2 separate regions of the Homo sapiens genome follow, and region 2 is linked to region 1. Evidence: promoter capture Hi-C in 16 types of primary human blood cells and fetal thymus (Javierre and others, 2016). All regions are on one chromosome and are shown on one strand. Each heading gives the region's core, a stretch centred on a gene start or on the middle of the fragment in contact. The rest is flanking DNA. Distances are from core to core; before and after follow the strand shown.

What was found. The method cuts DNA at HindIII sites, captures the fragments that hold promoters and counts their contacts. A CHiCAGO score of 5 or more calls a contact.
Region 2: a contact is called between a fragment that was not itself captured here and the fragment with the promoter of LPAR2 in region 1, in 1 of 17 cell types (neutrophils). The highest score is 6.1, in neutrophils.

What each region holds. Positions count from the first base shown.
Region 1 is chr19:19,624,885-19,631,938 of GRCh38, forward strand. It overlaps LPAR2 (lysophosphatidic acid receptor 2), which reads right to left and starts at 3,336. Exons shown (of 3, transcript NM_001395660.1): 1 at 3,208-3,336; 2 at 1,659-2,400. The coding sequence starts at 2,391. GMIP (GEM interacting protein) reads right to left here. Exons shown (of 21, transcript NM_016573.4): 20 at 5,587-5,653; 21 at 4,592-5,452. The coding sequence ends at 5,079. RefSeq lists silencers at 3,087-3,586, 3,957-4,086 and an enhancer at 3,724-4,646. The HindIII fragment of the contact is 41,803 bases long and covers 1-7,054 here.
Region 2 is chr19:21,021,255-21,028,308 of GRCh38, forward strand. It overlaps ZNF430 (zinc finger protein 430), which reads left to right. Exons shown (of 5, transcript NM_025189.4): 2 at 1,535-1,627. Among named protein-coding and RNA genes, the nearest start is that of ZNF430, 4.1 kb to the left of the region's middle. RefSeq lists enhancers at 1-278, 2,924-3,424. The HindIII fragment of the contact is 2,121 bases long and covers 686-2,806 here.

The sequences.
Region 1 (7,054 bases), core at 2,086-4,585:
CTTGCTGCAACCTCTGCCTCCCAGGTTCAAGCAATTCCCCCACCTCAGCCTCCCAAGTAGCTGGGACTACAGGTGTGTGCCACCATGCCCGGCTATATTTTTTTTTTTTTGTATTTTAGTAGAGATGGGGTTTCACCATGTTGGCCAGGATGGTCTCGATCTCCTGACCTCGTGATCCGCCCGCCTCAGCCTCCCGAAGTGTTGGGATTACAGGCATGAGCCACTGCGCCTGGCCTGTGTGTTTTTTTTTGAGACAGGGTCTCCTTCTGTCACCTAGGCTGGAGTGCAGTGGCACGATCACACCTCACTGAAGCGGCACGATCACACCTCACTGCAGCATTTGACAGGCTGAGGCAGGACAATCACTTGAGGCCAGGAGTTTAAGACCAGCCTAGGCAATATAGTGAGACCTCGTTTCTACAAAAAATAAAAAATTAGCCAGGTATGGTGGCACATGCCTGTAGTCCCAGCTACTCAGGAAACTGAGGCGGGAGGATCACCTGAGCCCGGAAGGTTGAGGCTGCAGTGAGCTATGATGGAGCCATTGTAATCCAGCCTAGGCAAGAGTAAGATCCTGTATCTTAAAAACAAAAATAAATTTTGAAATTTAAAAATATGGGCCGGGCGTGGTGGCTCATGCTTGTAATCCCAGCACTTTGGGAGGCCAAGGCGGGTGGATCACGAGGTCAAGACATCGAGACCATCCTGGCCAACATAGTGAAACCTGGTCTCTACTAAAAATAGAAAAATTAGCCAGGCATAGTGGCACGCACCTGTAGTCCCAGCTACTCAGGAGGCTGAGGCAGGAGAACCACTTGAACCTGGGAGGCAGAAGTTGCAGTGAGCCGAGATTGCGCCACTGCACTCCAGCCTGGGTGACAGAGCGAGACTCTGTCTCAAAAAAAAAAAAAAAAAATTAAAAATACATATAGATTAAAAAACAATTTAAAGGCTTTTTGTTAAAACAGGCTTAGCACTGCTAAAAACTCCTTTTTTTTTTTTTTTTCTGAGACAGAGTTCTGGAGTTTCGCTCTTGTTGCCCAGGCTGGAGTGCAATGGTGTGATCTCGGCTCACCACAACCTCCGCCTCCTGGGTTCAAGCAATTCTCCTGCCTCAGGCTCCCGAGTAGCTGGGATTACAGGCACACACCACCATACCTGGCTAATTTTGCATTTTTAGTAGAGATGGGGTTTCTCCATGTTGGTCAGGCTGGTCGTGAACTCCCAACCTCAGCTGATCTGCCCGCCTCGGCCTCCCAAAGTGCTGGGATTACAGGCGTGAGCCACTGTGCCCGGCTAGCACTGCTAAAAACTCTTAAGGGGTTCCCATGAAACTCAAAATAAGACTCCTGTCCGTGCCCCTTAAGGCCTTGCTGATCTCTCCTCCTCACAAGCCCACTTTCCTCTTTAGAGGCTCTGGCCTCGTACTGCCTTGAGGTTTTTACTTTCCGTTTCCTCTGCCTGGAAGGCTCTCTGTTCCTATCCTCAGCATTCAGGCCTCTGCTCACATACATTATCACCTCCTTGGAGGACATTCCCCACCTAAATCATCCCCCATCACCCTCTATCAGGTAGCTTGTTTTGTTCATTGCTTCGCAGTGTCTTGTGGGAGATAGGGGGAAGCAGGGTCCCTGTTGCCCCCTGGGGGCCCCACTTACCCAGGATGATGACAACAGTCTTGACCAGGCTGAGCGTGGTCTCTCGGTAGCGGGGGTGGCAGCTGACATGCTCTGCCATGCGCTGCACTCGCCGCCGCACGTAGAAGAAAATGCGGGTGTACACAGCCACCATGAGCAGGAAGACAAGCAGGCTCGACAGAGCCCAGACGGCCAAATAGGAGCGGCTGAGCAGGGGTGCCATGCGTGAGCAGCGGTCCAGGGCACAGAGGCAGTGCCAGGAGTGGGCAGGCAGCAGCCCCAGGCCCAGGGCAGCCACCCACACGCCCACAATGAGCATGACCACGCGGCCACGGGGCAGGCGGCTGTGCAGCTGCACGGCCATCACACTGCGGTGCCGCTCCACGGCGATGGCCAGCAGTGTGGCCACCGACGCAGTGAGGCTTGTGTCCAGCAAGCCCTGCCGCAGGAACCAGCCCTCAAGTGAAAGTCGGGCTGTGCGGGGACCAGTGTGGAACATGAGGAAGAGGTAGGCCACGCCCGCGAAGAGGTCAGCCGCGGCCAGATTGCCGAGCAGGTAGTAGATGGGCTGGTGGAAGCGGCGGTTGGAGGCGATGGCTGCTATGACCAGCAGATTGGTCAGCAGCACCAGCACGCTGACGGTCAGCCCCAGTGCCACCACGACCACATCCTTGGGCCGCCAGTGGGAGCTGAGCTCTTTGCCACTGTTGTTATAGAAGAAGCCGATGGTCTCGTTGTAGTAGCACTGGCCCATGATGACCATCTGGGGACACAAGAGATCAGTGCATGTGGCACTTCTTGGAAGGACACAGGGAGGGGCGGCAGCTGCAGAGGAGGGTCAGCGCAGGAAGGACAAGGGTCTCAAATTCAGATACCTCGAAGCAAAGTGGCAGTGGTGAGGACTACGGTGGCCTGGAAAAAGCAAGCTCCATGGGGCTGGGGTGGAGGTGGAGGAGCAGCTGTTTCTTACCTACTAATAAGACCTGTGTGCAAGACATCACCCAAGTCAATAGGTTTTTGAACCAGAAGTGAAACAAAACCCATCTATGGTCGAATCCCAGCCCACCTGCCGCCAATGTGTGACCCGGTTTGGGTTGTGGGGAGAGGAGGGTTAGGGAAAGACAAAGGGGTGTGAGCTGCGGGAAGAGATGAGGGAGGATCACTTTGGTGCCGGAGTCAGTGTAGGGAGCAGAGACCCGGGAGCGTGTGCACACAAGGGTGAGGTCACTTGCTAGAACCCTGCGAGGGGGCGGTGCCGAGGCGTGGAGGTGATCGGAGTGGACAGAGAGGCGGCCCCAGAAGTTAGTCGGCGGGATTTGGGCGCGAGTGCTTCCCAAGCGGGCGGGGCAATAGGCTGTTCCGGGTGGGACGGAGGACACTGGCGGTCTCCGGGACAAAGACAGCGGTTGGGGAAGGGATGGATGGCCGGGCCTCCAGGCGTCTCCAGACTGGGGAAGGGGTAGGGGGTTAAGGGATCAGAGGGCGGCGTCCTGGCCCCGCAGGCACGTGCCGCGCCCTTCCCCCGGGCCCAGGCCCGCACCCGCCCGCCTCCCGTCCGTGCAGGCCTCACCTGGGCCTCCAGTCACGCCGCAGACAAGGCGGGCTCGCGGGGGTTCGGGGCGGGCTCGAGGCCCATGGCCCGGCGACTGCGGCGGGAGCGGTAGAGCGTCCGGGTGCGCCCTGTGCGGGTTGCTGAGAGGGCGCGGGAGGCGGGGTCTCCCCGGCGCCCCGCCCCCACCACCTGGGGGAGCCCTGCCCCGCCCCGCCACCTGGGGGAGCCCCGCCTCCACGGCCGCGTCGGGGGCGGTGTCGCCCGGAACCGCAGCCCCCCTGTTTCCTCCCCGCCTCGCGGCCCCTCAGTCGCCCCTATTTCCGGCGCGGGACCCCCACCCCGGTACCTGCACACCTCATGCGCCCGCAGTTTCGAGCCTGCGGGGCTGAGTCACTCGGCGACCCGAAAATTCCCGCCGTGACCCCGCGCTGCCCGGGCGGAGCTCCAGGTGGTCTTGGGTCCGCGCCCCCGCTCCGGACCCCCAACCCTCCCAGCCCCACCCCGCTCTCTTCTTCGTGTCCAATCGGCCGCCGAGTTACAAGCCACTCCCTGATCCGACTTGGCTCCCACCGCCCGGACCCCCGCCCAGCTTCGGCTTTGCCAGCTCGCAGTATCAGCGAGCCGCGGCCTCCTGTGCGAGGCCCACCTCTGCGGCCCCAGCTGATCATCGGGCGCACGCTAGGGTTTTGCAATCCCGCCCCCGTACCCCTCACCCTGGGACAGCGCTGCCCCCTGCAAAGCCCGGCCCTGCCCTGCCCTGCCCTGTGGCTTCCTCCCTCGGCCTCCCTGCGGCGGCCCCGGGCTCCCACGGTCCGGAGCACACAGCCCCATTGTCCCGGTTATCGGTACTTTGTTATACTGTATTTGATTATGCAGGACCGGATCGGGGACGCAGAGCTCCGGGAGGGCCGGGCTGGCGTGACTCAGCCGGGTGCTGCGACCCAGCTCCAACTGCCTTTACGTAGGTGCTGCAGGGTGTTTGATGATGCAAGAAGGAGGCCTTGAGGCCGGGCGCAGTGGCTCACGCCTGTAATCCCTGCATTTTGGGAGGCCGATGCGGGACGATCACGAGATCAGGAGATCGAGACCATCCTGGCCAACATGCTGAAACCCCGTCTCTACTAAAAATACAAAAAAATTAGCCGGGCATGGTGGCAGGCGCCTGTAGTCCCAGCTACTCGGGAGGCTGAGGCAGGAGAATCGCTTGAACCCGGGAGGTGGAGGTTGCAGTGAGCGGAGATCGTGCCACTGCACTCCAACCTGGAGACAGAGCAAAACTCCGTCTCAAAAAAAAAAAAAAAAAAAAAAAAAAAAGAGGCCTTGATTCCCCTAATCTGTAAAATGGGGGCAAGGAGTGCTACCCATGCTGGCCTCTCCCCTAGCAGAGATGCACCCAAGGGCATATAGGACACAGTTTATTAGAGGCCATCAGACCTCAGGCACCACCAGCATGTGGAGTCTGAGCTGCCCACCTCCTCCAGGAAGGTCACTTCGAGTCCGTGAAGGAGGCAGGCAGGTGTGGGGGAGTGACCACAACCAAAGTAGCAAAAGCACCCCTGTCCCAGGTGTCAGAGACTAGGGTGGACCCCAAGGATCTCATAACCTGCACTGACCCTGAGTATTGACCCTGAGTGACCTCTGAGCCCGAGTGGCCCTGATGCTTGGCAGTGACCTGTGTCTAGTGGGGGGACTCTGGGACATTATCCCCAAAAGGGTTTTAGGCCTCCCCTAGGTCATGTATTAAATAGTTTTTCCTTATAGGAACCCTCTGGACCTCTCCCAGCATTGAACTCCTGGCGGGGTGTTTGGCCACTAGGTGGTGGGAGGTAGGGATATATGGGTCCGTCTTCACAATCTGGGCCTCTTCCTTATTTAAGGTGCCAGGGTGGTCAGAGATGGTCCTCGGCTTCCTCAGGCTGGACGTCCGGGCAGCAGGTGGCCCTGGGCACAGCCTCGCTGTCCAATTTCGAGAGTAGCCGGGCTGTCTCCTGGGTAATCTCAAAATGCTTGGGCAGCGGGGTGCGGCGCAGGGGGCTGCCCTCAGGGGAGGCAGCTGCAGGGCTGGGCCCCCGCCCCCGCAAACTCCCTCTGGGCACTGATGTGATGGGGGTCTCCTCGCACAGCTTGGAAGCCACCAGGGCCAGACTGGACAGCTGGTGGGTTACAGGCCTCACACCGCCCCGGGGATACTTCACTGGCTGGCGGCTGAAGTGGCCACGAGACTGTGTCCCCAGGAGTGAGTCCTCTGGGCCTTGGCTGGACACTGTGTACGGGGTGGGTGGTCAGTGCAGAGCACCTCCAAGTTCTCTGTATATCCCCCCAGGAGTCATCTTTTAGCAAGCCACCCTGGGGCCAGGGCACCCCCAGAACTCCTGAGCCTCTCTCTAACATACTCACCTTCCCCTCCCCCATCTTTGGTGTCTTCAGCCACGTCCTCTCTCTGGTCACTCTGTGGAGTTGGAATCTGCAGGGAGAAACCCAAGAATGAGACCCCAACACTAAAATCCCAGTTCTTTGAGATTCCTGGAGAGCCAAGGGCTTGTTCCTGGACATGCAAAAGGAATAGCCAGTGCAAAGGCCCTGAGGTAGGAGCATGCCTGGTATGTTAGGACGCAGCCCCACCCTGTAATGAATGAGGGAAAGGTGGTAGGAAGTGAGACCAAAGAGGAGTGGGCCCAGGTGGCTCTGCCAGCCACCCCTGACTTTGCACCTACTCTGCACTGGGTGTGGACTACCATTGAACTCCTCCTATGCACAGGGCATGGACCACCACTGACTGTGCACCTGTCATCCTTTGCAGTTTTGGTGTTTGGGGATAGACGATGCCCTTATAAGTGTACTGCTTGGCCAGGCATGGTGGTGCATGCCTGTAATCCCAGCACTTTGGGAGGCTGAGGTTGGTGGATTATCTGAGGTCAGGAGTTCGGGACCAGCCTGGCCAACATGGTGAAACTCCGTCTCTACTAGAAATACAAAATTTAGCCGGGCGTGGTGGTGCATGCCTGTAATCCCAGCTACTAGGGAGGCTGAGGCAGGAGAATCGCTTGGACCTGGGAGGTGGAGATTGCAGTGAGCTCAGATCATGCCCCTGCACTCCAGTCTGGGTGACAGAATGAGACTCCGTCTCAAAAATAATAATAAGTGTACTGCTTGCCCTTCCAGCATAGAGCAGTGTCATTCATTGAGTCTGGACCGTGGGCTCCATGAGGGTGGGAAAATCCTTGTTTAGCAAATGGCCAGCCCAGGGAGTGGCTCAGCCCTCTCCACATTAGGACCAGGTGGTGCCTCTGAACTACTATCCTGGGCTGCTCTCTGCAACCTTACCAACTTTACTGTTCCATCCTTAGCTAAATGGTTGGCAGTGTCTACACATCAGACACTGTCCCGAGCACTTTATGAGGCATTCCAGCTCTCAGAGACCCACAGTTCACCAGCAGCCGCTTCCCAGCTCTGGGCTGCTGCAGGAGAGATCCTTGCTCTCAGGAATGGCAGATGCAGCAAGATACCAGCAGCACAGGCCTTGGGCATGGACTGTTCTAGCAATCCGGAGCAGCGGGTGCTGCTATCTTCCTGGTTCACAGCTGAGCTCTGGATCCAGACTGGTGACCTTTGTTAAAGATTCTACGCCAGGCGGCCGGGTGCAGTGGCTCCAGCCTGTAATCCCAGCACTTTGGGAGGCCGAGGCGGGTGGATCACAAGGTCAGGAGATCGAGACCATCCTGGCTAACACGGTGAAACCCCGTCTCTACTAAAAATACAAAAAAATTAGCCGGGTGTGGTGGCGGGTGCCTGTAGTCCCAGCTACTTGGGAGGCTGAGGCAGGAGAATGACGTGAACCTGGGAGGCAGAGCTTGCAGTGAGCCAA
Region 2 (7,054 bases), core at 496-2,995, 1.4 Mb after region 1:
TTGGGAGGCCGAGGCGGGCGCATCACTAAGTCAGGAGAGTTCAAGACCAGCCTGGCCAGCATAGTGAAACCCCGTCTTTACTAAAAATACAAAAATTTGCCGGGCATGGTGGTACACGCCTGTAGTCCCAGCTACTTGGGAGACTGAGGCAGGAGAATCACTTGAACCTGGGAGGTGGAGATTGCAGTGAGCCGAGATAGCGCCACTGCACTACAGCCTGTGTAACAGAGCAAGACTCCGTCTCGGAAAAAAAAAATGTACAGAAGTCACCACAAAAATATTAAAGAAATTAATCAAAGAGTGATTAAAAAACTGTTGAGCACCCAGCTGTGGTTTGTAATTTGTTGTTCATGGCGGGGCTTGAAGGAAAGACTTTTATAAGGTGCATGATGAAGAAAGCCAAATTCAGTAATTGGTTAGGTACCGTTATGTAGTTTCTTAGTTTGTACAATAAAGGTGAAAATTTTCTGGTTGTGTAATCAGACCTTAATTGGCAGTATACAGTTGATTAAGCCTGAATTTTGTGTCTTTCAATGTAGTAATTTTCAAAACGATGCGCCTGAGTTAGATTTTTTTTTTTTTTTTTTTTTTTTTTTTTTGAGATGGAGTCTCGCTCTTGTCGCCCAGGCTGGAGTGCAGTGGCACAATCTCGGCTCACTACAACTTCTGCCGCTGCCTGTGTTCAAGCTTCTCCTGCCTCAGCCTTTTGAGTAGCTGGAATTACAAGCGCCTGCCACCCTGCCCAGCTAATTTTTGTACTTTTAGTAGAGACGGGGTTTCACCATGTTGGCCTGGCTGGCCTCGAACTCTTGACCTCAGGTGATCCGCCTGCCTTGGCCTCCCAAAATGCTGGGATTACAGGCGTGAGCTATCACGCCCAGCCACGTTAGATCTTTTTAAAAGTAGGAACCCAGGGTCTAGAGACACCTCAGTCTAATTGCCTGCCACTCAATTATTTTCACACTCCACGGGGAACTGATTTTCTGCTGCATTTTTCACCTGTGTCCCAAGCAGGGTCTTAAGTCTAACCCCCGTCCCCCATTTCTCCAGCCTCACTCTGGCTTGCAGTAAGATACTAAATTTCCAGTTCTTTCTGGCGTTCCCAAATGCCAACTTTTCCTACCTAATTCACATTATCACCTATTTGTCCTTTAGTGTACATTTTTTACACCGTATTTTAATTAGTTATTTTCTGACAAAGTATTAAATGGTGCTTTTAATAAGATTTGTTATCTGTTTGTAAATATTTCCCATGTGAAGAAAGCAAAGAATAATCCCCTGACACTGTGTTGTAAAAACTCTCTGTGCTTCTTCTCCTTGTATCTTCTCTGGGCACAGAGATCTTGTCTCAGGATGTTTTTGGGTCAGGGTTTTCCTTTGGAAACTTTATGGGGTGTTGTGTCCTCAGTCACCCTTCAGTTTTTTTCTGGTCCTGGGTTTCAGTATTGTCTGGGGATAAACCAAGATATCCGCCATGGTTATGTCAGTTAGAGTGTCTAGTGGATATCAGCTTCTGGGTTATTTTCTCCCATAGGAGAACCTGAAGTCTGGAGTGTATCCTCTCAAGGAAGCAAGTGGATGCCCTGGGGCTGACAGGAATCTTCTGGTGTACTCTTTTTATGAAAAGGTAACCCCTTGAGATGTTAAAATTGTCTTCACCCAACCCAGCTTTCATTTCTTGGAGACACATTGCTGGTCAACCAATCAGACTGTGGCATTGAGGGGAAAACAAATAATTTTTGCCTCTGGATTGTCTAAGGGGGCAGAAAAATAGTGAAATAACTATAGTGAAAGTAAAATAGTGGAAAAAAGTGGAACATTTGTGACAGAAAAAATAGTATCCCAAAAGACAAAAAGAAAAAGAAAAACACTGACCCCAGTGAGATGGCGTAAGAACTTGCAAAGTTAAATGCCCGTGGGACAGTCACTGGGGCATAGTGTGGTATCTCCTGAGTGGGTGGTTCTTGAGCACATAAGTGAGCAGGAGTGGGTGGAAGACTGTTTGAAGTGATTGAATGGCCTGACTTGAAACATGAGTCAGACACATCTGTTTTTTCATCAGCACTGCCACTCCCTGGGTTTGTCACCTTGAAAAGATTTGTTCATTTATTTTAACCTCAGTTTTTTAGCTGTAAATTCTATTAGTAGGGCTTGAAAGGTAGGAAAATATTTACCAAAGGCATAAAAGTGGTGGGTTTAAGAAAAAAAATAGTATCTAATAATATATTCCATTCATTAAAAATTCTCTATTCCCTTTTTACCCCCAGGGTGAGTTTAGGAATTTTCTCAGGTGTGTTTTTTATGGCTGGGTGATTTCAAACAGAATTCTAAGGCTCAGCTTTTAGAATGCTACCAAGGAAATGAGTAGGGAAAATCTCTGTTCCATTTTTTTGTAGAAAATAAATACATTTCTACAAGAAAATGTGGTAGATAATTGGTGAGTTACATACATTCATGAAAACATGAGTTTCTCTCTCTGCAGGGTAAATTTGTGACAGTAAACATCTCTGTTCAAATCCTGTTATCTTGATTTCTGAGTTTCATGCTAAATTTTATGAGATGAAACTTGGTACCACCTAGAAGTTTTCCCATATGACTAACTGTTTACTAAATGATTCTTAATGGAATTCATAAAATAATGCATACATTATGTGAAAGAAATAGATATTTTGCTTTTTTTATTGAGGTATAAATTGCAAACACCTTAAAATTTCCTTCCCTTGTATGAACACTGTGACTAATTTTGCTAGATTTTTCAAACACATAGTTTCAAAAACCAAGTGAGTAACTCTAACATAGAAATTAAAGCTTGAGCCCAGTGACTCAGAGCTAAGGCTAATATTGAGCCTGCAAAAGGAGTTTATTACAGGCCCAGTTAGTTTTTTTTCTGGGGAGCCTCCCCTGCAGATGTCCTAGCCTGCTCACTCTAGCTGTGGAAGAAGCTTTTCTGCTGAGAGAAGCTACAGAGTCCTGGAAAGGTGGGGACCCACAGGCAGATGCAGTTAAGGTTAAGATGGTAGGAGATTGAGAGGGTCTTACTGATGATAAAGTTGTTAATGTTTGAAGGCAGTTTCTAGACTTTGTAATACCTAACAAAGTTAGATTTATGTTAAAAATTTGAATTCCAAAGGACTATTGCAACAGGAGGAAATACCAACTGTAAGAACCTTAAGGATTGCAAAGTTTAGGCAGAAAAGGGCTTTCTTTCATGGGGAGGAGCAAACAAAATTAGAAGTTGGAGACGGCCGGATGCTGTGGCTCACACCTGTAATCTCAGCACTTTGGGAGGCCGAGGCAGGCGGATCATGAGGTCAGGAGATGGAGACCATCCTGGCTAACATGGTGAAACCCCGTCTCTACTAAAAATACAAAAAAATCAGCCGGGCGTGGTCACGGGCGCCTGTAGTCCCAGCTACTCGGGAGGCTGAGGCAGGAGAATGGCGTAAACCCAGGAGGTGGAGCTGGCAGTGAGCCTAGATCGCGCCACTGCACTCCAGCCTGGGTGACAGGGCCAGATTCCATCTTAAAAAAAAAAAAAAGAAGTTGGAGGTGACTGACAAATGAAGGGTGAAATAATCAGATTTTAGATCAGAGAATGTTTTACCCTGAAGTCAGCATGTTCTTAGGAGGGACATAAAATGGAGTTGTATATTGGCTCAGATTGAGGGTAGCTCCAAGTTCAGGAGCCTGTGAAAAATTTTATTTAGACCACTGAAGACAAATTCAGCTGATTTTTTTAAATGAGAAAAAGAAAATGTGCAGAGTTCTTATCGGAAAGGGGTCACAATCCACACCCCAAGAGAGGGTTCTTGGATTTCGCTCAAGAAAGAATTCAGGGTGAGTCTACAGAGTAAAGTAAAAGCAAGTTTATTAGGAAACAGAAGGAATAAAAGAATGGCTTACTCTATAGGCAGAGCAGCCCTGAGGGCTGCTGGTTGCCCATTTTTATGGTTATTTCTTGATTATATGCTAAACAAGGGGTGGATTATTTTTGCCTCCCAATTAGACAATATAAAGTCATTTTCTGATGTTTCCATGATGTCTCCATGGCATTTTGTAAACTGTCATGGCACTGGTGGGAGTGTAGCAGTGAGGACCACCAAAGGTCACTCTCATCCCATCTTGGTTTTGGTGAGTTTTATCCACCTTCTTTACTGCAACCTGTTTTATCACCCAGATCTTTATAACCTGTATCTTGTGCTGAACTCTTGTCTCATCCTGTGACTTAGAATGCCTAACCATCTGGGAGTGCAGCCCCATAGGTCTCAGCCTCATTTTACCCAGCCCCTATTCGAAATGGATTTGCCCTGATTCAATACACCTCTGACATTTCTCCTTTTTTTTTTATCTGAGACGGAGTCTCACTCTGTTGCCCAGGCTGGAGTGCAACGGCATCATCTCGGCTCACTGCAACCTCCACCTACCAGGTTCAAGTATTTCTCCTGCCTCAGCCTCCCCAGTAGCTGGGATTACAGGCGCCTACCACCATGCCTGGCTAATTTTTGTACTTTTTTTTTTTTTTTTTTCAGTCCAATCAGTTTACTCTGCTTTCTCCATCTCCTCCTCCCATTAGTCAGCCATTGGAACTGGGAAACCTCCTACTTTCCCCCTCTTTGTACTCTTTCCACAATTCATCTTGTCTTTCTGCAGCCATATCTTCTTAATACAGACTGAAGTTTCTGTCATTGAGAACAGAGTGATCCATAAACCTGGTCATCACACTTTTTATGAGATAGTAATGTGGGCCCCAGATCCATGGCATGGTTTCCTCTGGATGCACTCCTGGATCTAATTTTTGTATTTTTAGTAGAGACGGGGTTTCACCATGTTGACCAGGATGGTCTCCGTCTCTTGACCTCATGATCCACCTGCCTCGGCCTCCCAAAGTGCTGGGATTACAGGCATGAGCCATCATGCCTGGCCGTAATCTCTGACTTTTTTTTTTTTTTCTTGAGACGGAGTCTCACTGTGTTGCCCCGGCTGGAGTTCAGTGGCACGATCTCAGCTCACTGCAACCTCCGCCTCCCAGGTTCAAGTTATTCTCCTGTCTCAGCCTTCTGAGTAGCTGGGATTATAGGCGCACGCCACCACGCCTGGCCAGTTTTTGTATTTTTAGTAGAGATGGAGTTTCACCATGTTGATCAGGCTGGTCTCAAACTCCTGACCTTGTGATCTGCCTGCCCCAGCCTCCCAAAGTGCTGGGGTTACAGGCGTGAGCCACCGTGCCCGGCCAATCTCTGACTTCTTTAAGCAGTGTTTTGTGATTCTTGTCATAGGGATCTTTCACCATTCTGATTAGCTGTATTCCTAGATATTCTATTCTTTTTGTGGCAATTGTGAATGGGATTATGTTTTTGATTTGGCTTTTGGCTTGGATGTTTTGATGTACAGAGATTCTACTGATTTTTGTACGTGTATTTTGTATCCTGAAACTTTGCTAAAGTTGTTTATTAGTTTAAAGAGCTTTCCTGCTGAGACTATAGGGTTTTGAAGATATAGAATCATGTCATCTGCACACAGGGATAGTTAGACTTCCTTTCTTCCTGTTTGGATGCCTTTTTTCTTTTCTTTTCTTTTTTTTTTTTTTTTTTTTTTTGAGACAGAGTCTTGCTCTCGCCAGGCTGGAGTGCAGTGGTGTGATCTCGGCTCACTGCAACCTCCGCCTCCCAGGTTGAAGCGATTCTCCTGCCTCAGCCTCCTGAGTAGCTGGGACTACAGGCACATGCCACCATGCCAAGCTAAGTTTTGTATTTTTAGGAGAGACGGGGTTTCACCATGTTGGCCAGGATGGTCTCGATCTCTTGACCTCGTGATCTGCTCACCTCAGCCTCCCAAAGTGCTGGGATTACAGGCGTGAGCCCCCATGCCCGGCAGATGCCTTTTATTTTCATCTCTTCTCTGATTGCTCTGGCCAGGATTTCCAATTTTATGTTGAATAGGATGTTTGAGAGAAGGCATCCTTATCTTGTGCCAGTTTTCAAGGAGGAATGCTTCCAGCTTGTGTCCATTCAGTGTGTTGGCTGTAAGTTTGTCGTTGATGTCTCATTGTTTTGAAGTATATACCTTCAATGCCTAGTTTGTTAAGGGTTTTAAACATGAAAAATGTTAAATTATATTGAAAGTATTTTTAGCATCTATTGAGATAATCTTGGTATTTGTTATTAGTTCTCTTTATGTGATGAATAACATTTATTGATTGTATATGGAACCAACTTGCCTCCCAGAGATGCAGCCTACTTGATTATAGTGGATTAGCTTTTTGATGTTCTTCTGAATTCAGTTTCCCAGTATTTTGTTGATGGTATTTTCATCAATGTTCATCAAGGATATTGGCTTGAAGTTTTCTTTTTTTTTTAATCTCTGCCAGGTTTTGATATCAGAATGATGCTATTCTTATATATAATGAGTTGAAAAGGAGTCCTTTCTTTTCAATATTTTGAAGTATTTTTAGTAGAAGTGGTACTAGCTCTTTTTTGTACATCTGGTAGAGTTCAGCTAGGAATTTGTCTGGTTCTTTGCTTTTTTTTGGCTAGTAGGCTATTTCTTACTAATTCAATTTTGGAGCTTGTTATTGGTCTATTCAGGGATTCAGTTTCTTATTTGTTCAGTCTCTGGAAAATGTGTCTTTGCTCCCAGGTTACTATTCTCAAGCTTGGCCCAAATAAACTCTTATATTCATGTTGCCTCAGCTTTTTCCTTTTAGGTAGTCATATCACGTAGAATGAGCTAGAGCAGCCTCTATGAGGGGATCTCTCCTTTGATTGTACTCCACTTGCTGTAACACCCAAGAATGCAGAGTGTGGTTGATCCTACCTAGAATCTGCACATAAGGTCTGGCCTCTTCCTGGGATTTACAGGACACGGCCAGACTTTAGGTTGAGAATGTACAGAAAACCAACAGGAGGCATTTTCTCCATTGTGAGTTGTCAACATAGACATCTTAAAGCCCCCTTTGACAGTGTGGTTCTTTAAGCTTTTCAGATCTTGTTCAGTGATTTGCCACAGTTATGTGAGAGGCTCCAGATATAAATAGAATCTGATGACAGAATCAGCA